Linked DNA regions of Homo sapiens: regions 1, 2, 3, 4, 5 and 6 are each linked to region 7. Evidence: promoter capture Hi-C in 16 types of primary human blood cells and fetal thymus (Javierre and others, 2016). All regions are on one chromosome and are shown on one strand. Each heading gives the region's core, a stretch centred on a gene start or on the middle of the fragment in contact. The rest is flanking DNA. Distances are from core to core; before and after follow the strand shown.

The links. The method cuts DNA at HindIII sites, captures the fragments that hold promoters and counts their contacts. A CHiCAGO score of 5 or more calls a contact.
Region 1: a contact is called between a fragment that was not itself captured here and the fragment with the promoter of LINC01277 in region 7, in 1 of 17 cell types (endothelial precursors). The highest score is 5.2, in endothelial precursors.
Region 2: a contact is called between a fragment that was not itself captured here and the fragment with the promoter of LINC01277 in region 7, in 1 of 17 cell types (total B cells). The highest score is 5.4, in total B cells.
Region 3: a contact is called between a fragment that was not itself captured here and the fragment with the promoter of LINC01277 in region 7, in 3 of 17 cell types (total B cells, naive B cells and monocytes). The highest score is 7.0, in total B cells.
Region 4: a contact is called between a fragment that was not itself captured here and the fragment with the promoter of LINC01277 in region 7, in 11 of 17 cell types (total B cells, naive B cells, activated CD4 T cells and 8 more). The highest score is 8.6, in total B cells.
Region 5: a fragment that was not itself captured here is called in contact with the fragment with the promoter of LINC01277 in region 7 in 16 of 17 cell types (naive B cells, neutrophils, total CD8 T cells and 13 more); the score reaches 13.5 in naive B cells.
Region 6: a fragment that was not itself captured here is called in contact with the fragment with the promoter of LINC01277 in region 7 in 3 of 17 cell types (M2 macrophages, megakaryocytes and total B cells); the score reaches 5.7 in M2 macrophages.

What each region holds. Positions count from the first base shown.
Region 1 is chr6:142,620,220-142,624,598 of GRCh38, forward strand. The region is part of intron 1 of LOC153910 (a long non-coding RNA gene); the gene reads right to left. Among named protein-coding and RNA genes, the nearest start is that of ADGRG6, 320 kb to the left of the region's middle. The HindIII fragment of the contact is 1,497 bases long and covers 756-2,252 here.
Region 2 is chr6:143,442,934-143,446,967 of GRCh38, forward strand. All of the region lies in intron 1 of ADAT2 (adenosine deaminase tRNA specific 2), which reads right to left. Among named protein-coding and RNA genes, the nearest start is that of ADAT2, 5.7 kb to the right of the region's middle. The HindIII fragment of the contact is 2,708 bases long and covers 103-2,810 here.
Region 3 is chr6:142,758,726-142,763,135 of GRCh38, forward strand. HIVEP2 (HIVEP zinc finger 2) reads right to left here. Exons shown (of 10, transcript NM_006734.4): 8 at 2,739-2,840; 9 at 1,047-1,942. Among named protein-coding and RNA genes, the nearest start is that of HIVEP2, 180 kb to the right of the region's middle. RefSeq lists an enhancer at 3,120-3,169. The HindIII fragment of the contact is 9,901 bases long and covers 1-4,410 here.
Region 4 is chr6:142,709,208-142,713,590 of GRCh38, forward strand. No RefSeq gene overlaps it. Among named protein-coding and RNA genes, the nearest start is that of HIVEP2, 230 kb to the right of the region's middle. The HindIII fragment of the contact is 1,458 bases long and covers 1,936-3,393 here.
Region 5 is chr6:142,675,072-142,678,886 of GRCh38, forward strand. No RefSeq gene overlaps it. Among named protein-coding and RNA genes, the nearest start is that of HIVEP2, 270 kb to the right of the region's middle. The HindIII fragment of the contact is 4,934 bases long and covers 1-3,815 here.
Region 6 is chr6:143,407,005-143,411,001 of GRCh38, forward strand. No RefSeq gene overlaps it. Among named protein-coding and RNA genes, the nearest start is that of ADAT2, 42 kb to the right of the region's middle. The HindIII fragment of the contact is 7,946 bases long and covers 1-3,997 here.
Region 7 is chr6:143,036,313-143,040,360 of GRCh38, forward strand. LINC01277 (long intergenic non-protein coding RNA 1277) reads right to left here and starts at 1,270. Exons shown (of 3, transcript NR_038987.1): 1 at 677-1,270. RefSeq lists an enhancer at 3,528-3,597. The HindIII fragment of the contact is 5,129 bases long and covers 1-3,569 here.

The DNA of each region.
Region 1 (4,379 bases), core at 254-2,753, 420 kb before region 7:
CTGCCTCAGCCTCCGGAGTAGCTGGGACTACAGGCGCCCGCCACCACGCCCGGCTAGTTTTTTGTATTTTTAGTAGAGACGGGTTTTCACCGTGTTAGCCAGGATGGTCTCGATCAGCTGACCTCGTGATCCGCCCGCCTCGACCTCCCAAAGTGCTAGGATTACAGGCATGAGCCACCACACCCGGCCTATCCTCCTTTTTATATTAAAAAATCTTCACTTTAACCCTTTCAAATTAAAGTCTGTGCCATTGTATAATAGTTATTGAATAATAACTATTTTTCATTGGTTTCTATAATGTCTGAGCAGGAGATTAGAAAAGTGAATGAGACTCTGCCTTAACCTTCAGGACACAGGCATGGGAGGCCATTCTGAGCAATAGTTAAGAGCACACGTTCTCACATGAGATGCTGAGGGTGTGAACCTGCACTCTGCCAGTTTTCAGTTATTTAATGTTAGACAAATTAACCTCATCATTCCTGGTATTTATATGTAAAATGGAGATAATTGATAGATTTATAGCATTAGTTTGAAGATTAAATGATATTACACATGTAAATATTGTTCAGTTTAATGTCTAGTACAAGACAAAGTACTACATAAGTTTTAGCCTTTATTTTTAGCCCTGGCTCTCAAGACATAACCAGCTTAGGCTATGAGGATGTCAGTCATGGTGAGTAGAAGTTTCTCAGGGATTTACAAACTTACAAAATTTATAAGAGATAGGACTGTGGTTTAATTTTAACACTAAGTCAAGCTTGTTTAAATTCCAGAAAGGGACATCAAAGTACCAAATCAGGAATAAGTTGAATAATTTTGTCTCTTTTGGCCTAACATAATGATTTATCTCTTGTCCCTTTTCTTTGCTCTTCTGTCTTCACTCTCTCCCTGGTAATCTCATTTAATATCAAGAGTCAAGCCATCATCTTGAGAGAATTGAGTCTCAAATATCTTTCCTGAACTCCAGACCCATACTTGCAACATCCTGAAAAATATTTTTGCCTGGATGTTCCCCGAACCTAGGAAACTGTATTTTGCCTTCTTCATCTTGGTGTCTAATCTTCACTTATAAGAAGTATAAATATATTTGTGTTTAAATGGATATAGTGAAGAGAATATGCAAATACATACATGTAAATGAATGAGTAAATGAATAAAACTTGTGAACAGTTTTTCAATTTAGACTAAGATTAGCATATAAAAAGCCTTCAAACTATTTCCCATTCATGAAGTCAAACTAAGTTGAAAAATAACATGCTGACTTCATTCTTCAATTTGGAATAGATGTCTAAAAGTGGGGTTTGGTGAAGAACCTGTCCTGCCACCCAAAGTCAGCAAAAAGGCTTAGGCAGCAAAATAGTGAGATAGAAAGGAGATTGTCAACCTCAGTCACAGGTAGATCACAGACACACACTTGCATAATCATTGCTCTAAGTCCAAGCAATTTCTAAGGGTAGGAAAAAGCTAGACGGTCTATATCAAGTAAACTTGGCTGTGCACTGCAAGCATCAACCTTCTTTATGGAAAGCATGTGAGTTGTGAGTACAAGGGATGGGGATAATGGTAGACCCCACTGACAGTGGACCAGGAACTAAACATATAAATACATCCCCACCCTCTACTCATGGTCTAGACTCCAGTGAAAAAAGATAAGGAAGTAAAAAGTTGGAGAAAGTATGTAAGAAACAGAGCTCCCTCTCATTAGTTTTATTTATTTAACAAAAAACTCCTGAATGCCCTCCAAGTTTCAGGGACTGTTACATGGTCTGTCAGATAACCTAATCAAACCATGTGATAGGAGTGGTATTTGGTGTCCACACAAGTCTACTGTACTCTGGGGAGAAGTTGCTGCAACATTTCCAAGTCCTTCTGACTCCTTTTGAATACACACACATACACACATACACATGTGTCTGAAACTACGGTGTGGTGGGATGAAAGGGGCATGACCTTCTGTTCAGGCGACCAATGTCTTGGAGTAGAAGGACACAACTTTCTCTAATCTTTGTCACCAGGAGAACTTCAGTGTCAGCCTCATGAGGCCTCTACAGGCTGGCCTCCACTGAAGAATTCAATAGTAAGCCAGAGAGACAGATGGAGACTGGAAGATTTTGATTCCTTATCCTGGCCAAGTTTAATATTTCCAAGAACTTGTATCCCCTCAAAAGATATATTAAAGTCCTAATTCCTGTACCGGAGAATGTGACCTTATTTGGAGATAAGGTTTTTACAGAGGTAAACAAGTTAAAACAAGCTTATTAGGTTCGACCCTAACCTTATATGACAGGTTATATAAAAAGGGGATGTTTCTTATAAAAAGGGGATGTTGGGGGCACAGACACGTGTTCAGGGAGAATGCTATGTGAGGATGAAGGCAGAGATCAGGGTAAGGCTTGTTCGTAACAAAGAATGCCAAAGATTGCCAGCAAACCACTAAAAGTAAGGGATAGGCATGGGACAGATTCCCCACCCAGCCCTCAGAAGGAACCAACCCTACTGACACCTTGGCCTCAGACTTCCAGCCTCCAGAACTAAGAGAAAAAATTTCTGTTGTTTAAGACTGTCACTAAGTTTTTGGTATGTGCTTTATTGTGGCAGCCCTAACAAGCTGATACACAAGGCTAATGCTCCAAACTGTTCTGGAAACTAAATTGTATCCAGGTTCATATGCTACCTCATAGGAGATGTGAATGCCTATCAAAATCTTTTCAAATTTATGTTAATAGCATTGAAAGTGAAAAGAAAAAAGAGCAAATATTGTCTCTTCAGAATGATTCTCCCAAAATAATGACAATGTGCTCTTTGAAAAGCTCCTCTCTTTGGAAAAGGCATCCTATATCCTAATCATTTGTTTCCAGCTGAGACAAAGAACTGCTCTTTTATTTCAACAGCAGATAACCACGTTTCAACAATCAAGCCAAAACAGCAGTAATTAACATAAACTGTCTTATGAGTTGCTTGTACACTACCTCATTTTGTCTCATGAGCAGGGCTATGAGATAAATTAATTAAAAACCAGAACAGACGAAAGATGGGCAAGTTTGGGTGTATTAATACTTACTATGAAATTATGATTATGACAACTTAGATAAAGTGAAAACTATTTAAACAAGGCTTCATTGTTTCCTTGTTGTAGGCTAATAATCATCACCACTCAATTCTGGCATCAAACCAGAGCTCAGGGAGGCATTGTGACTTGCAAGTGAAGAGAATGTATTCTAACCTGGGTTCAGCAGGTATAGCTACGTAGTTTGCACGGCTGGTGCAAAATGAAAATGCAGGGTTCATTGGTAAAAAGCAGGAAAAGAGTCATTGAAGGCACTAAAATAATATAAAGTTTCCTTCCTTCTTCATCATGGGGTTTTAAATTATATTTAATGTTGTTTAATGTGGTTCTAAGTAAATTAAAATTAAAATTTTTAATTGGCTGGGTTCAGTAGCTCACACCTGTAATCCTAGCACTTTGGGAGCTCAGGAGTTCAAGATCAGCCTGGGCAACATGGTGAAACCCCGTCTCTACTAAAAATACAAAAATTTTAGCCAGGCATGGCGGTGTGTGCCTGTAGTCCCAGCTACTCGGGAGGCTGAGGCAGGAGAACTGCTTGAACCTGGGAGGCAGAGGTTGCAGTGAGCCAAGATCATGCCACTGCACTAGAGTCTGGGTGACAGAATGAGACTCCATCTCCAAAAAACAAAACAAAACAGAAGTTAAATTATGAGTGAATTTTACCATTTAGCTTTATATTGTGCTATGAGTTTTAAATGCCAATGTAAGAGTATTTGATGTGTATGCAGAATCACTAAAATCAAACACCTCATATTTCATAGTTTTTACATGCGTATTTATTTTGTTCTTATCAGAACAGTGGAAACACTGCACAGAACAAACTTGAATGTGTTTATTTCAATTCTTGATGCACACACATTCCACAAACTCTCCCTACCTTTGGGGTTACTGATGGCTAAGGAAAGATTGAAAGGAAAAAGAACTATTGGTTGCCCTGTCTTTCCCTTTCCTTCCATGTCAGCATGTTCAGCATAAGTGGCTGACTACTGCAAGTGAGTAACACATGTAAGAAAGGACACAATAGGGTTCCTCGGTGGTTTGAGTTTCTTGGAACACCATAGTCTTCTCTCTGTGTTCTAAGCAAGTTCCCCTTGGAATGGAAAGTGTAGCTTTTCTTGAGGCTGTCAGAAGCCCACCCCCCGCCCCCCCGCCCCTCCCAATCGCTCAGAATGAACATAACAGGTTTACCTTGCAATCACTTGGAGTCTCCTTGAACTCCATGCATTGTGGTTACCAGAATTCTGTGCTCAGAGCCACCGCACGCTCTGTGCACATGAAGTGGCAAGGAACAGCACGAGCTTCATCATTGCAT
Region 2 (4,034 bases), core at 207-2,706, 410 kb after region 7:
TATACTTTCCCCAACAAACCTCTTAAGAGAGGTAATGTTTTGTCTGCATCTCGAGTATTCTGGTTCTGAGAGCTTGAACATAAGAGCTTACAATTTATTGAAAGCTTACTTTGATCCAGGACTAATTTAAGCATTTTATAAGTATTAATTCATTTCATTTACAAGCCTATAATGATCTTCCCCATTTTACAGATGAGGAAACTGAGGCACAGGGAGATTTTTTTTTATACATGTATATATCTCTCACTAGCGCATGTGAGAGAGCTGGGACTAGGGCATAGACAACCTGGCTCCACTTATTCATTTGTTCAACAAACATTTGTGGAGCACCTACCAAGGGCCAGATTCCAGGGCTCTCTGCCACTGTTCTGCCTCTAACTTCTACTTTAGTAACAACAGACACTTCACCGATCAGCTGCTTTATCAGGGTTTGAGTTTAGAGTGAATCAAGGGACCAAATGAGAGAGAACAGTTGGCAAGAGAGTGAGACATGGAAATTTTAAGGATAAAAAAAATGGCAAGAGGAGTTCAAGGCTGTAGTGAGCTATGATCATGCCACTACACTCCAGCCTGGGTAACACAGCAAGACCCCATCTCTAAAAAAAGTAAAAAATAGGCTGAGCACAGTGGCCCATGCCTGTAATCCCAGCACTTTAGGAGGCCAAGGCAGGTGGATCATCTTAGGTCAGGAGTTTGAGACCAGCCTGGCCAATATTGTGAAACCCCATCTCTACTAAAAATACAAAAATTAGCTGGGCATGGTGATGGGTGCCTGTAATCCTAGCTACTTGGGAGGCTGAGGCATGAGAATCGCTTGAACCCAGGAGGCGGAGGTTGCAGTGAGCCCAGATTGTGCCATTGCATTCCAGCCTGGGCGACAAAGTGAAACTCTGTCTTAAAAAAAAAAAAAGTTAAAAAAAAAAACAAAAACGGCAAGAGAATAAACAAATGGAGGCCATGTGATCAGGATTTTCTGTAAAAATATCTCCTGAAGAGCTCTACATTGGCTATGTGGGCCATCTCAAACCTGCAGAAGAGAATGCAGGGCCGAGTGGAAAGGACGTGAGTGGGATGGGAGATGAGATTCCATGTTGCCTGCAAGTTCTGTCTTGTTCACCTGGAGATAGCACCCACGCCACCATGTTACTGGGTTTGTGCCTTCCATTCCTTCCTTTGGATTTTTCTCTTTTTCCGTCTAGCAAATTTATTTCATTTCACTCCTCTCAATATTATCTTCATGTTTATTTTGAGTAACACAGTTTTTTTTCCTGAAATGCCTTCCACTGCTGTCCGAAACAGAGAGCAAATATGAGCGATCGGAATATTTTAAAAGGACAAATAACGTCATTGTTGAGGAATGGCCGAGCCTGCCATGCTGAGGATGAGTGGGTAAGCAACTGGAATGGTAGGCAGGGGAGGGGGCGGTGAGAATAACACAAAGCCCCATGGAAGTGAGTTGAGGGGAACTCCTTTACAACAATTAACATGTAGATTTGCTTCACTAACAAGTTCACAATAGATTTAATTAAGCTGGAAATCAATTTCACCCCATACCCATATCATACTTTCAAACTCTCCCAACAACTCTACTGTCAAGTCTGATCACTTCTTCACAAATGCAAAAAAGCTCAGGCAAAATGGGTCTGAAATTTGTGCAGGTAGCTTTGAATTTAACCTTTCTTGCCTTTTTTAGGGGGAAAGACCAAGATCAGATACTATTTAAAAATGGCTACAAGGTTTTTCATAAAGTAACAAATGATCAACCTTCAAAATTAAAGAATAAAATCTCTGTTCTTCCCAGCCCAAACACTGGTCTCTATTTTGTCCTTGAATATAATTTCTTTTTTTTCTCTAGTCAGGGCCTGCCCAGATACAGATAATGAAAGCACCTAGATGGAAGAGACTTCGTAGTTTATTATTTTCTCCAAAGACATTACTACTATAAACTGCTTTCTAGTGATGTCATGATAAAAGGGGGAGAGATGGAAACAGACCTTGTTTGCACACAGTTTGATGAGTCCTTAAAGAAATATTTCCTATAAAGACAAAAAATTAGGGGGAACAAACAAGTTAGCCAGAACTCTCAGGTAGAACATCATCCTGTCCAAAAGGCTAAACTATATAACTGTTTCTGCTAATTACTCTCTTCTGAGTGATTACTCTCTGAGTAATTAGCAGAAACAGTTATATAGTTTAACTTTGGGGATTTAAAAAGTGATAATGTTTTTATTCCATCAACTTTAAATTCTTCAATATGGCACTGAAGGTCTCCCAACTATCACCCACCCTCCCATTGGCCAACCGAACCAACCTAACTTTTCATTATTCATTTAGGTTATTAACCTTTTCAGAGCAGAAATCCCCTTTTAGACACTGATGAAAGTTATGGACTGTCTCACTTGAAAAAGGCACACGCACATAATATTTTATATATAGTTTCAGCGTTCATAGATCCCCCTAAACCTGAGCCTGAGGTCAGGGAGCCCTGTTCTAGATAGATAGATAGATCTCCTTCTAACCCAAAACAAAGTTCTTGATTTCTTTGGACATGACAGTATCTTTGCTTGGATCAACCTTTCCTTTCCACCAGCCCACATCCTTTTGGTCCCTTAAAATTTAGAAGGAATTCTATCATTTATCTCAACGGACGTGTTGAAGGACCTTGCCAGCTGTTATCTGACAGCACTTTATATCTGTCTCTTGTGGTCTTTGGACATGTTACTTACCAACCTTTTCATCTGTGCCTGACTTAATTTCATCAATTAAACAGTATGTTCCTGGAAGGCAAGCACTAGATCCAGGCACTACGAAGCTTCTCTTGCTCACCTCTGCAGCCTATGCACCCAGCACAAGGTCTAACACATAGCAAAAACTTAATCATACCACATTTGTTGAAATGGTGTCTGTGGTGTTTGCTTTCTTTTCGAATTTCCCTCAGAGCCTAGCATAATGTTATATTAATATCAATTGCCCCAAAAATGCACACTATAAAAAAATACAATTGACTTTTTTCTAGAAAACTTGCAACATTTTTTCTATACACATATGTATAGATAGTTAGTCAATCTTTCTTTTTTCCTAATTATAAAGTAAGATGTGTTCAAGGTGGAGAACTTAGCGATTAAAAAAAAAAAACCTCATGTATCAAAAAAAAAAAACCCACTAAGAATCCCAATACCCCAAAATATAATCCCTGTTATTCTGAAGCAACGGGGGTTTTTTCTGTTTTTTCCTATGCCCTGCATACACATATTTACAGTTTTTAAAAAGTCAAATAGATTTACACTGTATATACAGTTCAGCAGTCTGCCCTTTTCATTTAGAAATGTATTGTTAACCTTTCCCTATATTGGGTAATATTTTTTCATCACATGATTTTGTAAAGGTTGTACAGTATTTCTCCTTATGAACATATCTGATTCAACCAACTAGTCTCCTATTATTTGACATTTAAGTGATTCAAATTCTTCACTATTATAAACAAGTAAAGAACTTCTCTATATAAATATTTATATTGCTTCTTTGTGATTTATTCCTAGAAACAGCTGTAAAATACAAAGAGCTCCTACAGTGCGATTTTTTAAATCAAACTATTACAAAATTGGGGAAAGTATATGCCTCGGCAATTCACAGAAGAAAAAAATCTAAATGTTCAATTAAATTACACAGTAGATACACAGTATTCAGGTAAAGAAACTGAAAAGGAAGAAAGAGAGCAGAGGATATGTTGGCAAGCAGTGAGCTACCTAACACCGAGAGGCAGGCCAGGCCAGTATTTAACAGCAGATGACAGGCCTCAAATCACAGCCCCATCCTTCCCAGCTCTCTAACTTTGGGGAAGTTACTGAACTTTCTCAGCTTCAATATCCCATCTGAAAATGAGGACCATAATAATACTCACCTGATAGGGCTTCTGTGGGGCTTATAACATGGCCCACATGAAAACACTGTGCATAGCATAGTATCTGGAACACACCAAGAGTGCAACACTATTACTTAGTCATACTTCTTTTTTCCAAGCCTATCTTTAGAAT
Region 3 (4,410 bases), core at 1,627-4,126, 280 kb before region 7:
CTGCTTAAATGTAATCCATGGTGGTTACTGTTATCTTCACTTATAATGAAGGCATATCATAGAAATCTCTGCACATTCTCACTTAGCTCTCCTGATTTCCCGTTCTCCTTGGGCCCACGCTTCCACTGAGCAAGTGCACTTGATAGTAGTAATGGCAAGAAAAGCAGACAGGCTCATGTCTTTGATTTATAAACATGCCGAGTGTGTCATTCTCTCCTCTCCCTGGCCCTGACCAGTTTCACATGTCCCCTCATGATGGGCAAGGTAGAGTTTATTAAAAAAAGGAGTTTTTGAGGCCAGGCGCAGTGGCTCATGTCTGTAATCCTAGCACTTTGGGAGGCCGAGGCAGGCAGATCACTTGAGTTCAGGAGTTCGAGACCAGCCTGGCCAACATGGTGAAACCCTGCCTCTACCAATAAATACAAAAATTAGCCAGGTGTGGTGATACACGCCTGTAGTCCCAGCTTCTCGGGAGGCTGAGATGGGAGAATCGCTTCAACCTGGGAGGCGGAGGTTGTAGTGAGCCAAAGTCGTGCCACTGCACTCCAGCCTGGGTGAAAGAGTGAGACCCTGTCTCAAAAAAAATAAATAAAATAAAAATTTTAAAAATAAAAGTTTTGGAAAGTCAAGGTTAACAGCTGAATCAGAATCCTTACCTGGTGATGAGTTATATAAGTGATGCCTAAATGTCCCTGTGAGTGTATGTCCATGCAGTCATGGCATTCTAAAGGTTCATCTTTTTTACTTACAAAAAGGCTTCAGCTTACGTCTATCATTAGTTAAGTTTAGAAAGCCTTCAGAAAGGCCTCACCTGTTCCCACTGGGAATGCACTGCTGCTCTGATGCAATACTACACTTTAGGTAATGCCACAGCCATGTTACTGACAATAGCATATGACAAAAATGTCTCCCCGCTATTTTCATTAGCCAGATTCACTCCACCCATGACAGATACCCATGTTCTACTAAACTTCACACCAGTGCATTATCAGGAGGACCAATGTGCTTCCACTTATGTATTAGAAAGAAAAGTGGATTATACTTACAGGAGGCCCCAATACAATTGGCTCTGCTTGCAAATACTGTCCCATGGACAATGGTGGGTTATGGTATAAAGCCCTTCTGGGAGATGGCGCTCTTATTGTGGTCATGTATCTTCTCTCTCTTCTAGGAGAGAGGTCTCTTCTTGCTGTGATATCTTTCCCAGGAGACACTGGCCTCCTTGGAGACAAATGCCTTCTTGGTGAAACATCTCTTTGGGACATCTCTCTTCTCAATGCAGCTTCCTTTCTTGGTGAAAGATGTCTCATGGGTGACAGATCTCTCCTAGGTGATAAATGTCTCCTGGGAGATAAATCTCCTTTGGGTATCAGATACCTCTTTGGTGAATTATCTCGACAGGGTGAAGAATCATATCCTGGAGAGGAATGGTGGCTTGAGGGTGAGAAGTCCCTGGGAGAGGAGCTTGGCTCTGAAGGTAGCATGCACTCCTCATCCATACAACTAGGTATGTCCAATCTGTCTTTGTCTGGTTCTGAGTCCGTACTTTTGCTCTGGAATAGCCTCTGGTATTCTGTCATCTGGGTATCTTCACATGAATCACTGGGTGTCATAAGCTGAGTAACTCGAATACTTGGCAAAGTAACCAAATAGCTGATCAACGAAGAATGTCCCAGGGAACTATCTGAAGGAACCCCGTGGGGTACGGCGCCAACATTCACAGGCAAGGAGGAGAATCTAGGAGGCTGAGGACTGGTGCTTCTTGATCTTGTTTTTGGTGTTAAATCTCCCTGGTCGTCAAAGTCATCTTCATCTTCATCATCATCATCATTATCATCTCCATCCTCACCATCTGATTCCTCAGCATCGGAGAACTGATGATCAGTTGAAATGCTGGACATGCTATGCTTCTCTGCTGCTTTGTGCAAATCTTCCAAATTTTCTGAAACAATTAAACAAAGATAATGGAGATCAAGATCCAAATATCAAGGTTAGGATCTTATTTAAGCCTCATTTCTTTCTAAACGCTTTTCCCAATCCCTAGTGCCCACAGATAGTTATGTCTGAGAACTCCTATAAAATGAGGCACTTACCTGTGTGACCCTGCGTTCATTCTATCTTCTTGTATATCTATTTGTTTTCATCCCCAACTTACAAGAAAGATTCCATAGTAGGACTTTATATCTCAGACATCATCCCACTCACAGAAAACCCTCAACAAATGAGCATGGATAATGTTAATTATGATGCTAGAGGAGAAAGAAAGGCAACAACCTGTCTCTGCAAGCTCAGGTACAAACGTATGTCTAAGTGATGTAACTCAGGAGGTCTGGCCAACCTTAATGATGTTTGTTTGCTAGTTTATTTGTTTTCCTACTGGGTTTCTTCTTAACTTGAATAATAATACATTAAAATGCTTTTCAAATTCCCCAAAAAGCCTCATAAAATCTAATTTGCTATCACAAAGCAAGTGCAATTCTATTCCCTTCATAGAAGGCTCTAAATATAAGTATTTTCAAAGTAAGGCCTTTTTTGCCCTCGGAGTCAAAACTGAAATGCATTTCTTCTCAGTAGATTTCAAGCAATTCAATGTGTCAGTTTTATTTTCTATATTTAGTATTTAATAAAATGAAAAGTGATCACTTTTTAAAAATATCTAAACTTATTTTACTACCTCAGCCACAGAGCTCCACTGTGCATAATGAAGAGGTCTGTCAACTCATTTATGACATACACACCTGCTTCCTCAGTTTCTGTATCATCCACCGATGTCATTGAGACTCCCAATTCCAGGCATTTTTTCATGTGTGCTTTAGATTTCATATGCTTCGTTAGGTTTCCTTGAAAATGTAGCAAAAAAAAGAGAGAAATTAATTGGTTATCAAATTAATAACTGCTGATAGCTGCTCCAAATTCAATGTGAAATGAACTAATTTTATTAAATTCATCATGTAACACAGATTTGTTTCTACCCACTACCCCTTGTTTCAACCTTAAGAAGAATAATCTGGTCTTTGAAGATATCAATCCCTGAGAGCTTTGGCCCAATCTCAGATATTCTTTATTCTAGAAGATATGTGGAAGTCCAGGCTCACATCTTTTCAAGAGTAGGCTCAAAGCAAGACTAGAAATCCCAGGCTTTTCTGCCTGAGAAGGGACCTCATATCTACCCAAATACACCAGCCTCCTGGGACTCCACAGAAACAGGAAACGCAATCTGGCCACACACCTCAGAGATACTTCAGAATGAAATATTCTCAACACACCCACTGGGCCCCTGACCTTCTGTGACTGATCAGGTACAGAGTAACCTCCAAGGATCTTCACCATTCAGAAGAAAAATACATACAAACTAATGTGAGGGCCAACCTTGTCAGTGCTCTGAAAGATCCATACAAATAATTAGCTAACTACTCATAGGGAGCATTATTCCCAGTATTTAGCATCTATCTGTCTGGCATATGTTAGCAAAAGTTATGACAGCAATTCCTAAAATTCTGGAGCAGCAACATTCCCTCTTTACTTATCTTCAGGCTCCTATCACACTAACAAAAAAGAAAGGTTTCATGCTGAATATGTTATAATGATAATGGCATATACAATTATATGTGTATATACATGTGTGGATATAAATTATATATATAATTTGTATAACTGCTTTATGAAATGTGAGAAATTTTGAAAACATTGTTCCAATCCTCGTTGACCCAGGATCTACAGAAGAATGCACACACACACACACACACACACACACACACACACACACACATACATATAAATTATATGCCATATAACTTATCAAAAGAGATTCAGGAACTAATTCAGTTGTAAGGCGCCTTTACATCACTTCAGTGAAAATAGCCATAATGTTATCTGTGCCCTTGACAACGCTTTAGCAATGTACCAACAAATACTTTAAGAGAAGGCTCTGTGAAATCTCCGTGGAAACTCAGCCTGCTAGCACAGTTTATTCCTCTGGTAGGGGTGTTCAGCTTGCTGTTCATGTAATATATGAGCCACAGTTAAAACTGGGACACTGTTGTTTATTATTTTACTCATATTGCTTTATTATTTACTTATTGCTTATATACTTATAAATTTTACATGCTGTTTTGAATAATTCCAAACAGAAATATTTCCAGGCCCCCACTCCTCCTATTTATCAAAACTTATATCTACCATTTTTTAAAGAGCCCAAAAATGTTATAGACATATCAAGAATGCTTAAATCTAGAAAATTAATGAAATGTATCTACAAATTAATAAAAATCATCACTTGTGCCAGAGTGCAAGTACGCTATGGATGTGTATAGGTATAGATGCTAAGCATATCGGGATAGTTTATTTAGATTTTAGTATGTGTTTCTTTCTCCTACATTTTTCTCTCCATTCCAAGGATAGTCAGGCTTT
Region 4 (4,383 bases), core at 1,415-3,914, 330 kb before region 7:
ATCCCACTTTCCACCCTCCAATAGGCCCCAGTGTGTGTTGTTCCACTCTATGTGTCCATGTGTTCTCATTATTTAGATTCCACTTATAAGTGAGAACATGCAGTATTTGGTTTTCTGTTCCTGCATTAGTTTGCTAAGGATAATGGCCTCCAGCTCCATCCATGTCCCTGCAAAGGACATGATCTCATTCTTTTTATGGCTGTATAGTATTCCGTGGTGTATATGTATCACATTTTCTTTATGCAGTCTATCATTGACAGGCACTTGGATTGATTCCATGTCTTTCCTATTGTGAATAGGGCTGCAGTAAGCATATGCATCCATGTGTCTTTACAATCGAATGATTTATATTCCTTTGGGTATATACCCAGTAATAGGGATTGCTCGGTTGAATGATATTTCTGTTTTTAGGTCTTTGAGGAAATGCCACACTGTCTTCTACAATGATTGTACTAATTTACACCCCTACCAACAGTGTATAAGCATTCCTTTTTCTCTACAAACTTGCTGGCATCTCTTATTTTTTGACCTTTTAATAATAGCCTTTTTGACTGGTGTGAGATGGTATCTCATTATGGTTTTGATTTTCATTTTTCCAATAATCAGTGATGTTGAGCTTTTTTAAAAATTTTTTTGTAGAGATGGGGTCTTGCCCTGTTGCCCCAGGCTGGTCTCAAACTCCTGGGCTCCAGCAACCTTCCTGCCACGGCCTCCCGAAGTGCTGGGATTATAGGTGTGAGCTACTGCACCTGGCCTCTGCCATTTCCTTTGTCTCTTTACCAACATTCAGCACAAGGATGTCCTTCATCAAATTATTAAGACTAAGGGTCAAGACAATTGCTAGAAATTAGCCTGAGCTTAACCCAAGTTCGTCTTCTGCCCTGTGCAGCACTACCATGTATCTTATTCATCCCCCTCATTAGCCTACCTACCTCATTCACACCCCATTTAGTGTTTCCACAATGGCTGATGGAAGCCTAATGCAACCAATATCCCAGTAGGAAGTCATTAACTACCATCTCCCCTTTACAACTACTAAGAGAGAGCATACCAAAATAATGGTACACTCCCTGCCACCCCCATTCTATCCAGCACTCAACAGTGAGGATCCTGACACTCGGTCCCCTGGGTACAGAAAACAAACTCACACAGTGTTGCCACTGGAAGGTCAGAGCCCTTCAAATCGTATTCCTACATAATCACCTGTTACTTCTTGGCAGGCCAGCCTTTTCTTGACTTCAATTCAGTTATTTGGGCCCTAACTAAAGTGATCTTCCAAGACTGTTGTTTTGGCCTGAAATCCATTGGGTTTAATTGTTTTTAAGGGTGCTAAACACCATATTAAACAGTGTTGACTGATATCTCACTTATTTGAATAACGCCAGTTATCAATGGTTTCATCACGTGAATGGCACGGATCACTCTGCAGACTATGCAGCCTGATGCATAGGAAGGTTCCAAAAGAAATAGTCTCGAGATGGCTTTTGATTTTATTTAAGAGTATGGTGGGCCAGGCGCGGTGCCTCACGCCTGTAATCCCAGCACTTTGGGAGGCCGTGTAGGGTGGATCACGAGTTCAGGAGTTCAAGACCAGCCTGGCCAACATGGAGAAATGCTGTCTCTACTAAAAATACAAAAATTAGCTGGGCATGGTGGCATGTGCCTGTAATCCCAGCTACTTGGGAGGCTGAGGAAGGAGAATTGCTTGAACCGGGACCTGGGAGGCAGAGGTAGCAGTGAGCCGAGATCACACCACTGCACTCCAGCCTGGGCAACAGAGCAAGACTTTGTCTCAAAAAAAAGAAGAAAAAAAAAAGTATGGCATTGAAAGTCAAACTCTCTCTTTTTTTCCAGTAAAAATAGAGAAATTTTAGGCCTCTTCACTTGGAGTTAGGAGGATCCCAGACATATTAGACCAATATCTAAGATTCAGCAAGCTTAAAGTTAAATATGTCTGTGTTAAGGAAATGGATGTCTAACCCCAAGTCATTTCCTTATTTTTTGAAATCCCCTCTGAATTGGGAATGGGCATTCTTATGGGGTAAAGAAAATCCTATGAAATCTTTTTTGAGACAACAGTATCAATTGATAGCTAAGCAGCTGTCCCTCAGATAAGCATTTAAAATCATGGAAATATCCTGAAGGTCCAGGGGAGATGATGAGACATGCTATGTATCATTGCTATTTATAAAGGATGTATAACTTACTTGGAAGTTACCAGTCTGTGTGGGATATGTGAGACCTGAGGAATGGTTCTTCCAATGGCAGTGAACTTCCATTGATCATGGACTTCCTGAGTAACCAGCTGTCTCAAGCCTGCTTCCTCACAGATCTTTCTCCAGGATGCTATCCCAGAATTCCAGTCATGAAGTCACCACTTTGGGATGTCATCTGCTACAAGTTTTTGAGCCAGCAGACCATTGAGCACCTGCCAGTTGCCAAACTATGGATGGCATAGTGCATTTTACTCCCTGCTGTCCCTAGAAGCAGGCACAATGCATTTCCAAGGGCCTGCTCCAAGAACCCCTCTCTTTGTAGTGAATATGCCTAGTTTCCAAATCCTGATCCCTCCTAGTCTGACCGTATCTGCTACCTCTTGAGCCCAATCAATCAAACTCTGTGTGCCTGTGGATATATGTTCATGTGCACACATATGTTCATGTGTGGATGCATGTAAACTCGGAGAATGATACAGCAGAAAATACCTTAACTAATTAGCCCGTATTTTTTAGATCTTCTTTGTCTTGTCCTAGGGGTCCTACAGAACCCCTTTAAGGGCAGAGTAGCTTTAGGAGGAGAAAATGAGGAAACTCAGAAGATTTCAGGGACCCCAAAGCCCCACAACAATTCAGCTTTCTGACCATCAGTTTTACATGTTGACTTTTACAGAAAGAATGTTTTTGAAGAAAGGGCACTCTCACTTTAAGCAACAAAAAGAAAACAACAATGGTTGAAAACCAGAGATTCTAGTCCAACTCCTTTGTTTTACAAGTAAGAAACTCATGAAGAAATGAAGATTGTCCCACAGTCACATAGCTATTTAGCTACAGTTGGAACTAGAACTGAGGTTGATTGATTCCCCAACTGTACATTTTCTATTCACCACACAACAAGGAGAAAGGGAAAAAAAAACAATACTGGTGTGCTTGTTGCATGCATTAGTGATTAGGATATGTCTCGATGACAACCTAGGATTTAAATGCCAAGTGAGAATGTGGGAGTGGAATTGTTCCATCCTATAATGAGTCCCAAGAAATCTTGAGCAAATGAGAGAGTAAGAAAAGGACTGAAATCTTGAGCCAAAGGAAATTCTTTCTGGATGTGTTTGGTAACCTTCAGCCTACATTTTCACTAGTAAAGAGGCAGCATGAATCCTAAATGGTCCTTGTAAAAAGCTTCCAATCAGAAACATCAAGATGGCAAGTCACCTTATAAGCCAGTAGATTTCAGAGCTTCTTGTATATTTGATATTTGTTAAAAGTGTTCATAGAGTTGTGGCAAGGCTTCTGAACAGAATGCAAACTGCATCTGGTCAAGAAAACTCTAGTGAAGAAAGCTACTAAAGCCAATTGGGATGGTCTTACTGATCAGAATCTTTTGTTCATGCAGATATACATGGACCTACAGAATCATGCTGAAAAGGATTCTCCTAAGCTTTAAATCTGTATTTGGTTTGCAGTATGAATGACTAGGAGCAATACTCAATCATGGATGTGGATTAGAATCACCTGGGGGGCCTTAAAAAATACTGCTGCCCAGACTCAACTGAAAAGAATTAGGAATTTCCGCAGGTGAGAGTTGGACATCAGTATTTTTTTAATGTTCCAAATGATTTTAATATATGACCAAGGTCAAGGACCACTGAGTCAGAGGGTTCTCAAAAGAACCCAAAAGATAAGGAAGGAAGAATGAGAGGGAAAGGAAGATTACTGGGTCCCGATCAACTAAAGTGATGCTCTGTCAGATCACTTTTTGTTGTTTGAAGAGCACCCTTTCTCAGCAAACATAAGTGGTGAGTGACCCACATCACCAACAGAACCGTGCTAGGAGCATGTGGCTGCCATGCTCCAACCCTCAAAGCCTCACTACTCCAGTGGGTCTTGCTCTCGGCGTGAAACAGTCTCCAGAATTCTGCCTGAAAGGTAACCACCCAGCTCTCACTCATGACCCCTGCTTCCACTTCTAGGAGCAGCTAATTTTACCCCCATCTCTCAGGAAGACTTGAACCTCTCACTGAAAAGACACCTATCTTTCACCACCATGAGTATAAAAGAGAATGTTCTCATATGCCATTGTTTTTTATGAGTCCCCAATGGAATCCCTCTTGCTTCTTCTCACAGCCTCTGTCTCCAGGTAAAGAGAAAGGAGACTCTTCTGGTAATG
Region 5 (3,815 bases), core at 385-2,884, 360 kb before region 7:
TTTATTGTTCATCATACACTTTATGTCTCTTGCTAAATAATAAATTAGACTACATAGAGCTTCCTCCATATATTTATGTCTGCTGAAAATATTTGGCTAAATTCATTTTGGAAATACTTCACTTCCATGAAATATTGACATGGCAAAGACCATGTCAGAAACTTTGCCATTTTTCTGTGGAAAATAATACACGTGTCAGCCATACATTATTCCTTCCCACACTTTAATGCTTAATGATTAAACATTTGAAAAGTACTATTTCTAAATATTCTTCCAGACTACCTGTCCAACACAGAGTTAGCTATTCCAGTGCAAAGTCCTGGCTCCCAGACAACTAAGGGACCTTCGGAAAGGGGTAGAAAATGGCGGCTTCTCACCGGAGCCCTAAAACTGAGTAAACTCTAGGAAGCAGAAAAAGTGTAGAAGGGGAAGGAGAAGGAAAGGGAAGGAGTCTGGCATCTGTGATGGAGCTGGCCAGGTGTCTACAAACTCATTTCTCCTTCTGAGCTCAGGAATAAGCCACATTTGCCACCCATGCCTGGCAGTTAGCAGTGGCCATGAGACTGAGTTCTGGGCTGTGCGGAACGTGGGCACAAGTGGTGCTCACCACTTCAGGCCTCACCCGTAAAACTCCCTGCACAAACCTGCACATGCTCTGCCTCTCCCAGGGCCACCCAGCAGCAGATCAAGGGCAGCTCTCTCAGGAGGCGCTGGGGCATGGTGGAGCCGTTGGGCACAAATGTGATATCTAACTTGATTTCTTGCATTTCTCTCAGACTTCTGAATAACTGAGGGCAACAGAGCCCCACATTGGATGAGTGATGTCAGAAATACAACTCTGTGTGAAGCCGCTGAGGTGTGGGGTGATTTCTGACAGCAGTAGTCTTCTCTGGCTAATTCAGCGAATAAAGAAATCGAGCGATAAGGACAAGCTCCACTTCTTCATCTAGTCCTGTGAAGCAGTTGATCTTTTTCAATGTCTCAGTTATGACATCTCTCATGTGAAAAGCATCAACGCCAGGAGCTTCTCCATGTCCTCTGAGCAAGGGATGCATCCCATCCATTTACAGACTATAAAAACTCAGGGGGAGGGTTTCATTGCTCAATGAGGGGCTTGAATTTTCTTTGATCCCCTACTGATGGCGAATGATCTCTTTATTCCTTACACGGGGAGGGAGGATGAAACCTGGGGCAATTACATTAGATTCCGTTGACATGTGAAGCAATTTTGGCAAACCCAGCGAGCCTTTTGGTTGTGATTTATATCTAGTCAGGGAGAAATGACATCTGGGATGTCTGATTTATTCACTAGCAAAATGCTGGCTGAACCTAAAATAAGAAAATAGAGATTTATGTAACAGATTGCAGAGCCTTAATTTAAGAATGGTTAGGAAAGCAGCAGACACTCCAAGGCTCCGCTCTGCTTGGAATCACATGCTGCAAGTTAATATTACCTTTCTTAAAGTATTAAGTGACATGTTGAGAATTAGAGCATTATTTCTTCAAAATTCAACACCTGAATCTTTTCAAGATGACTGTTTCATATCCAAATAAGTCCTGGCATTCCTTTACATATTGACTGCCATAGAGAAGCAAACAGCTCTGTGAAATTTAGCAGACAGCTACAGTCTATTGTAGTTCTACCTGCAACCCCACAAGCAACTTCATACTAATCTCCATGCCAGGAGAACCTGGAAAGTACTGGGACTTGGTGAATAAGGAATTCTGTCCCCTCTGTTAAGAGACCACGTGGAGTCAGCGCCATAATTGTTTCCTCTTCAAAACCTAACAAGATTTTTCTGGAAAAGACTCAATGTTGAAAACACCAAAATGCAATTTCTTTCCGGTCTCAGTGCCCACAGTAGATGTGCTCCTGCATGTAGTGCTCACTAGACAAGCCACTGATTTATTCTTGCCTGGTGACACAGTCCTGTTTCCCGCTTCCTGCTTTACATTGGCCTTTGGAAAGCTCAGAGTCAAGAGGCAATCCCCACTGAGAATGCAGAGGACTCCAAGGCACAAATGTGATATCTAACTTGATTCCTTGCATTTCTCTCTTTTCTGACTTGGTTTCACACGTTCTCATCTATGCATCAGTTGATCAAGCAATTCATTTATCATCTCAGCTGGCTGAAATTCTGAATAAGGTGAGGTTATCCACAGAGAGAGAGAAAAATGATATAAAAGAGAAAAGAATGATGAAATAAGAGGGGAAGAAGAAAGGGAGAGAGAAAGAGAAAGAAGATAGGGAAAGGTGACTGGGCTGGGAAGGATGAATAGGACACAGGGAGGGATAGAGAGAAAGACACATTCCCCGTTTCCATCAGTGTTCAGCTGGTGAGAAAGCTGAGTGCTTATCAAAGGTTCACTAAACAGGTGGATTTATCTTTTCCTTTATAGAAAACTAAAGCTCTTGCTATTGTTCCTTTCTTCTTTTAGATTTCCCATATAATGAAGCGATTGCACTGAAGAATCTCTTCCACGATATGAAATTTTGCTAACTAATCACACCTTCCTTGATGTTACGATTTGGAAAGAGTCATTGTTGTAAAAATTGGGGATGAGATTTTTGTCCCTAGCAAGTGTAACCTTGGTAAGCCTGCTTAGGCTGTTTAGTTGCCCCCTTTCAATGTTACTAACTATTGGAGACAGACTATCCAGCATCTCAGGGAGCATGGTTTCAGCTTCTTTACACCCTTCACTCTGGGCAGCACAGCTCCTACGATGAATGGTGACATAAGTAAAGTACTTCCTGCCTGCCTCTCCTTTTTATGAACTTGGCCCTTTGTCAGGCATAGCATACCATCTTGCTGACCTTGAATAATTCCTTGGTGTGACCTTGGGCCTCTGTGTCTGCATCTAACACAACAAGACCCACCTGGGAAGAGGGCCTGATTTTTTTCTCCTACCAAAACTAAGTGCTTCTTTCTTCTCTTTGGAAAAATATTTAGTAAATGATTTCAACCTTATGTGCTAACAGGTTCCAATCCAAGTTCTTAAGGCAAGGACGGGAGCAAGATAGAGCTGCAGAATCTGTCAATATGGACTTTTATGGGAAGATGAAAAGCATGTCCTGAAAACTCAGGCAGGGATCATTGAAGGTGAGCTGTGTGCCTTCCTGGTTGCCCATCTCTCGAGGTGCTTGATCATGGACATTAGGTTGTAAATTTCTTCCAGCTATATCTATCTATTTAACAATGCATTTTCTTTAGCCAAAGTAATGCTTCTATAGTGCATATGAAATTTAGTCCACAAAAATTAGAGTGCAATAAATGTCACATTTATTTCTTTTCTTAATTTATTACAAGTTTCCTTTTCTTTTTTTTTCTTTTCTTTCTTTTTCTTTATGAAAAATCCAATCATGATCATTATTTGGGGTTTCATTCCCACCTTCCCAGTCAAGCAAAGTTCCTTGTGGTCCTAGGCACTTGGCAGTGTTAGGTGAGGGCACCTGGTCTTCTGTTCATATGTGCTCATCACTGGCGTGCTTGCTTCCCAAGCCCAAGAGGAGTTTCAGCTTCCATGCCAAGCAAGGACACTGAGCTCGGCATTTATGTTTAGTCCACTCTCCCAGCCCCTGAGCTATCCTCCTTCTGGGGCTCTGTATATAAGCGTATGATGGGGTAGGCTGTAACACTTTCTTGGGCCTCCGGTTTCCTTCTCTCCTTTTCAGCCCAGTCAGTTCTGTCTTTTGAACTCAGAGCACTACAATTCATCCACCCACTCCTCTCCCAGGACCTTCTAGTGTAACAAGACTGAGTTCTCACAGTGACCCCTAAGCATCTAAGAAGGATTGCCTTCTTTGCCTGGTTACT
Region 6 (3,997 bases), core at 17-2,516, 370 kb after region 7:
TTCTAGGGATAAAATAAAGCAAACCTTACTTCAGATATGTGTAAAGCATAAATACACTTAACACTCTTGAAAGCTATATTGTTGACTATTTGAAAAGAGGGCTGGGAATATTTTCTTCTTAATGAATAAGTAAATTCACTTCACCTGAGGACTTAGTACAAATGGGCTCCTACATCATCTTTACTGGCCCTTTCCCACCATGGTGTAAGGCTATGGTTCCTTCCTCTCTTCAGGGCACGGCCACCACTTCTCACCTTCTTATCTTGATGTTCTAGCCAACTGTGACTCCAGTTACGGTACTTACCTGGGGTTTGCCTCCTACCTCTATAATTTTCTTCACCCCAATCTGCGCTACTGGTGCTTTGTCCTCAATCTTCTTCTGGGGCCCAGGTCTCTGCATGACCTCCCATTGGCTGAATTATTAATTGTTAATGGGAATGTATCTCTGGGTCCCTGAATTGCTTCCTCAATTTGGTATCACATAAAATTAACTATCAAGGACGAGTTGTTATTAACATGAATATGGAAAGGTAAACATGCAAGAATAGCCAGGAAAGCAATTAAAATAACAACTGTGAAGAGAAATGCTCTGGTAGACACTGAAACATACTAGAAAGCCTCTATTAACACAGTCTGGGCCTGACCACAGGAATAGAAAAATAGGCCAGTGGGATAGAATAAAAAGTCCCCAAGGAGACCCAAGACATGGAAATGTAGGTGTATCCTAAACAGGTATTGCTAGGGCAGAGGTGGGGAAAATTTCCAATGCGGTAGCCATTGGAAAAAGATAAAATCTGTACTGCATACCATATACAAGAATAAACTCCAAATGGATCAGGGATCTAAATGTAAACATTTAAACTGTACAAATACAAGAAGCAAATATGGGTGAATTTTTCTTTAACCTTGATATAGGGACTTAAAATCCAGAAAAATTAAATATTGATAAATGTGTCTACATAAAATAATTAAAACATTTTTATTGCAGGAGAACCATAAACAAAGTCAAAAGGGAAAAATATGTATAATTTATAACATGGATAAGGGGTTAATATCCTCAATATTCAAATAATTCTTAGCGAGGGAAATGATTAAAGCTACCTGAAAAATAGAAAAAAAGACATGAACAGACAACTCATTTAAAAGCATATATATGGCATTTGAACTTATGAGAAGATATTCAAACAACCCATAATTAAAGACATGCAAGTTAAAACTATTGCATTTCTCACCTATCAGATAAGGAAAAATTTAAAAGTATGACAACACATTCTGTTGGCAAGAATAGAGGGAAACAGGTACTCTCATGCATTGCTGGTGGGAATACAGATTGGCACAACCCTTTTAGAGGGGGATTTGGTGATGACTAACAAAATGATTCATCCACTTACTTTTCAACTAAGCAGTCCTACTTCTAGGAATCCACCCTAAATATACATCTCTAAAAGTACAAAAATACATATACACAGGTTATTTATTATGATATTGGTTGGAAAGAGCTTGAATACTTAAGAGAGTAGGTGAATAAACTATAGTACACTCAGTGGAGTACTATGCAGCCATAAAAAATGAGTGATAAGGGATGCCTATGAACTGATATGCTGTGCTTACTAGGGTATACTGTTAATTGAAAGAAGCAAAATGTGAAAAAATAGAAAAGCCTATCTTTTGTGTAAGAAAAAAAGGAAATAAGAAATTATACACATATCTGCTCAATAGTGCAAAAATAAATAGAGAAAAAATAAACCAGAAACTAATGACTAGTTACACATAAGGAGAAGGGAATGACTCCTAGTCACATACAAGGAGAAGGGAATGACTCCTAGTCACATACAAGAAATAGGTAGAATTGGGTTGGAAAGGATGGGAAAATGAGAGCAGGATAGAATGGATAGTGGGGGGCAGAGGAGTGACTCTTTTCTGAGTAACCCTTCTTATAAAATTCTGACTTTTGGCAACCATAGTAGTGATTTATGTGCTCAAGATATATAGATAGACAAAATCAACAGGGATGATGAAAGAAATCCAAAATGGAATTTGTATCAGTCAAGAATCCAAGCCAGGAGGCACAAGTCATGCAGTAATTTGAATAGAGAAGTTCATTATGAACAGGGAAATAACTATGAAGGTGTAAAGACAGCCCTAAAGAATATTCTAGAGCTGAGAGTACAAAAAGAATAAACAAATTTGGAAGTGGCCCCTCTCCAAGGATGCGACTGAGATCTCATGGGAGGTGATGGAGATACTCAATAAATACTAAAAATTAATGGGTTTTCTGGGCCCAGAGCTGTACCACAGCCATCAGGCAAGTAAGAAATACACCCTTTGGTAGGCATGCCAAAGCTGGCAGGAAGAAATTGCAGCCAGGGCCAGCAAGCCAAAAGCAACCCTCTGGAGTGCAAGCAGTCAAGACTGGCAGAAGGGCATTGAGAATGACTCAGCATATTAGGAGCCCACTCATCAGCAGGGCAGCATGAGACCTGAGGTGTGCAGTGTTTACTTTAGGAGGGTCACATCGAGGTGGTCACCAGGCCAAGGCCAGAGCTGTGAGCTCACTAAGGCACCATGTGGTCTGAACAAGCAGCTGGGACAAAGCAGCACTAAATTTTTTCCCGCACACTGCTGGCCACCGTGTGGTAGGAGTGAAGAGATAAAACGGCAGCACATCAGGGCCGGGTGCAGTGGCTCACGCCTGTAATCCCAGCACTTTGGGAGGCCGAGGCGTGCGGATCACGAGGTCAGGAGATTGAGACCATCCTGGCTAACACGGTGAAACCCCGTCTCTACTAAAAATACAAAAAATTAATTAGCCGGACATGGTGGCGCCTGTAGTCCCACCTACCCCAGAGGCTGAGGCAGGGGAATGGCGTGAACCAGGGAGGCGGAGCTTGCAGTGAGCCTAGACCGAGCCACTGTGCTCCAGCCTGGGCAATAGAGTGAGACTCCGTCTCAAAAAAAAAAAAAAAAAATAGCAATGCATGGTGAATCTGCGGGCTTTGGAACCATCCAGATGTGGATTCGACTCTGACCTTGTAACTTAACTAATTGTGTGATGCCAGGCTAGTTACCTAATTTCCCTAAGCCTCAGTTTCCTCACCTGAAAAATGGGTCATCATAATAATATCTACTTTACGTTATTTATTGCAATTATCTCTATATTTATATTATGATTATTTATATTCAATGGATGATATTTGTAAAGAACTTACTACAAACTCAACCAGCAGAATTCATAATAGTTTGATATGGTTTGGCTGTGTCCCCACCCAAATCTCATCTTGAATTGAAATCCCCATAATCCCCACGTGTTGAGGGAGGGACCTGGTGGGAGATGACTGAATCATGGGGGTGGTTTCCCCATGCTGTTCTCATGATAGTGCATGACTTCTCATGAGATCTGATGGTTTTATAACTGTTTGATAGTTCGTCCTTCACAAGCACTCACTCTCTCCTGCTACCTTGTGAAGAGGGTGCCTGCTTCCCCTTCCACCATGATTGTAAGTTTCCTGAGGCCTCCCCAGCCATGCAGAACCATGAGTCAATTAAACCTCCTTTGTTTATAAATTATCCAGTCTCCGGTGTTTCATTATAGCAGTGTGAAAACAGACTAATGAATAGTTGTTATTGTGATTGTTGTAATGAGCCACATCAATGACTAGTTCACTTCTCCTTGAACAAACTATATACTATGCATTGAAGGCCCTATTTAACGACAGGCAGATACCCCATAGGTTATGTTTCTAAAGGTTTGATATAGCTCATTGTAAGTAAATCCAGGACATGAAATTTTAAACTTACAAAATAGATAAATAGTGAGTGATTATTTTTATTAAAACGTGATTCATGGCCTCTTTTGGAGCAAGTAGCATTTGGTTTCCTTTTAATGTTTGCAGAAACAGAACTATGACATAAAACAAAACAATTGTTTGTGTATTGCCTTAGGCAGACTGAGAAAGGGCCACTGCTGGGTGACTTAGGCATGGGAAAAATCTGGCTT
Region 7 (4,048 bases), core at 20-2,519:
TTTATTTAAAAATTATAATTTCCTTTGGTTATACCTTTTCTGTTTTCTAATATTGTATTTGTGTTCTCTTAGGTTTCCTTTGGCTAGACTTGCTAGGGATTGATTGGTTTGTTTTGTTTTTATAACTTTTCAAATACAAGATCACTGTTTTTATCAATAAATTGTAATGTTTGGCTTTCTCATGTTTAAGTCATTGCTTTTACATTCTTTTACTTTCTTTTGATTTATTTTCTTCTTTTTAATTTCCTGAGTTATACATTTATGTTATTTTAAACAAAATTTTTCATAAGGTAAGATTTGGTTACAATTCACAAGATTATATTATGTTATCAGGATTCTTTTTTCCTCTTTGATACAAGAGTTATCTAGAAGACTATTTTTATTTCCAGGTGATTTTTAGAAATGCTTTATTTTGATGCTGATGTCAGTATTTATTGCATGGAGTCAAACATATATTTCCTATACAAAATTATTCATTTTCAAATATATTTCTAATTATACAAGTAGCACATGAATACATTTTTATTGTGAAAGATTTATATAATGTAGACAAAACTATTTCCTCTAACCCCATCTCTAGTGGCAACATTAGTTACTGGCTTATTGTATATCATTTCAGTCTCTTTTCTATTCATCTGTGTCCTCTCACCAGGAACTGGTACCATCCTGTACTTACTGTATGTAGCACACTGATCCATACATGCATAGGCATTGCTCCCACCTGCAGGCTGCTGCCTAGCTTGTGGCTAATACGGGGATATAGAGAAGCCAATTCATCTGGTTGCTCCTGCTGAAGTACACCAACTAATCACCTTCTTGATTACTTCTGATGCACTCCTGCTCATTGTATCTGCCAACCCAGAGCATGAAGTAACTCTTTTATAGAAGTTTTTCCTGCATGCAGTTTGACCATACATTTCTCCTTCAAGTGATTGTGTTTTCATCTTTCAGTTATTCAACATAATTTTGTGTAGTCAGTATTCATTTACAGTTACCAACACATTTACCCATCCAGTATTCTTCATTCCCTCCTTGAATTTCCATCTTTTCAAATGAGATCATTTTTACTTTTGCTAGTAGAAATCCCTTCAGCATTTCAGTGTAAAACTCCTAGCAATAAATTATGTGAATTTTTGTTTTTTGTTTACTTTTTGCTTCTTTTTGTTGCTTGTTTGTTTGAAAATGTCATCATTTAACGTTCATTTCTGAAGATTGTTTTTCACACGTTGGCCTTTAGTTTCTTTCAGTACTCTAGAGATAGCATTCCATTATCTTCTGGCTTCTATTGTTGCTATTAGAGACAGCTGCCAGTCTCATTGTTGCTCTTTTGTAGATAATGTGTCTTTTTTCTTCTGGCTGGTTTTTCCATCTTCTCTGTCTTTGGTTCAGCAGTTTTATTGTGAGTTGCATAATTGTGGTTTTCTCTATACTTATCCTGCTTGAGGGTTTGCTGAGCTTCTTAACCAGTGGGTTAAATGTATTTTATCTGCTTTAGAAAATTCCCAACCATTATCCCTTTGAATATTGCTTCTGCTCTATTTCTTTCTCCTTGCCCTCTGAAACTTCAGTTTTACATGGTAGACCTTTCATACTTGTCCTGTATGTCTCTTACATTTGTTTCTTATTTTTTCTCTTTCTTTTTTTCTTCCATGCTTCACTTTGTATATTTTTCATTGATATGTTTCCAGTTCACAAGTCTTGTATTCAATAGTGTCCAACCTATTGTTAAACTCATATATTGAGTTTTTAAATTTAATTTTGAAATAATTTACTTTGAAATATTTTTATCAGAAAAGTTGCAAGAACAGTAGAATGAACTCCCACATTCTCTTCATCCAGATTCCTCAGTTAATAGTTTCATATTTTCTCCATCTCTTTTTGTAAAGATGATAGATAGATAGATAGATAGATAGATAGATAGATAGATAGATAGATGTGTATTTTCAAGGATATGATACCTTTTTTGAATATTTTGAGAGCAAGTTAAGCAAGTTGAAACCTTTATGTCCTATCATCTGTAAATATTCCTATTACTACTTCTCCCAAAGACACTCTCCTACAGAGTAATTGCCAAGCCTTTCAAATCAGAAAATGGACAGCGATAAATACCAGCATTCAAACCACAGTTCATTATTATCCAACGTTCCAGGCTTATCTTGAAATTTCTCTACCTCCATCCTTGAATCATCCACTTTTACAAGGAGTCCTTGTTGTTTGTTATGGAAATTGGAACCTACATACTTGTTATTAATTGCTACTGGGGTGTCATTGCACCTAGGTCCTCTCCATGGTCAGAATTTTGAAATATATGTATGTATTCATGGATATGTACACAGACATATTCACTTGCATTGATAATTTTTTTTGTTTCTTTCCTCCCTTCCCTTTCACTCTTTCCTTCTTTCCTTCCTTTTGCTCTTTCCTTCCTTCCTTCTTCCTTCTTACCATAACAATAGCAATGAGTTATTTTTTTCGCTTCCCCTTTTCATATTTGTAAATTTGTTTTCCCACAGAGAGAAATCCAGCTTCCATTAGCTTCAATATAGATACTTTCTTGATCAATCCTCCTTTACATAATTAATTTCCTAAAAATGCTAGGTACTGCCATGGCCAACTCATCACTCCTGATTTCATCTCCAGGCAAGTTGTCACTTTTGAACTCTTCTCCCCACCAAACCCTGGTCTGTTTGATATGCCACTGCCTCCATGCCCCTGTCTCCACCTTCTGGCTGTTAGACACATTGTTAACTGTGCACCCCAACTTACTCTTACCTTCACCTCCCTGGTGCTTCTTCTGCTGAGCATACAACTGCCACCATATGTACCCCCTATACATGCTTCCTTGGACACCAGGCACTCTGCTGCCTCCACATGGCTTTCCCATTATGACTTCTTTTGCCCCTATGCACATCACTATCTGTATGCCCGCCACCCTACTTTCTTGGCTGTTGGACACACTGCTATCTCTACTGATCCTTTCCACTGCAGTTTTCTCCATATATTGATTTCTTAACTGACGATAGTATATTTTTTCAAATTTAGAATGCCTAAAGAAATCTTTTTTATAGGTTAGTTTTACTGAAAATTGTCCATTTCCTCATCAATTTTGCACTTTATTTTCTTAAACATATTCATAAAAATTATTTGTAAATTCTCATTTGCTGATTACAATATCTTGATCATCTATAATTGTGTTTCTATTGTGTGTGTTTTTTTCTCTTGATTATTGGGCAAATGAACTTGATCTTCCACATCTAGTAATTTAAAAAATGTTAGACATTATGTATAATAAAACCATAAAGGGTCCAGATGATATTGCCTTCCACCGAAAGTGTTCCCTTTTTCTTCTGTTGGGCAGGTAGAATAGCCTTTGATCACCTCAATCGAGTCAGAGATTATTCTGAATCAGAAGCTGGTTTCAGTTTTGCTAAGTGTACCTCCGATTCACTTCTGTTCTTAGGGTGTAGCCCTCCAGGGCTTTCAATTGAGAGCCTGGTGGATCTCTGTCTTCCAGCCCTAAAAGATAACAGCAAGTTTTCAGTTTAGCTCTTTAACCTCCTGCTCCATAAAGCTTCAAAATTCAGCAACTCGCTTGAAAGGAAGACTGGCAATGTGTTTGGGACACTCTATAGTCTTCTGTGAAGAATAGAGATCTCTTTTGTTGTTTTCTTTGAGGGACAGCCTGTAGCTTTGCTCAGAATCTGTAAATATTCCCATCAAAAAACCACCTGTAAATTACCAATGTCAATTCCCTACTCCCTCTTATGTTTTTATATTTTACTTCTTTTGTTTTGGGGCTCCTCTTTTCCATAGCAGTTCGTTGATTCTCTAGCACCATGACACTGTGGGGGACTTCACTTTGCATTTCAGAAGTTTGGGGACTACTGTTTTAGCCTCCATACAGTCTCAGAATTCAGTTAATGTCTTAATCATGTATTTAGGGTTTCTCACACCTTCAGTGAGTCACCAAAGCCCCATATAACTGCTAAAAGTTTTGTTAGTTTAACTTTTTTCCGCAGCTGCATCTTTCTGCCTGGACTCAGCCTCA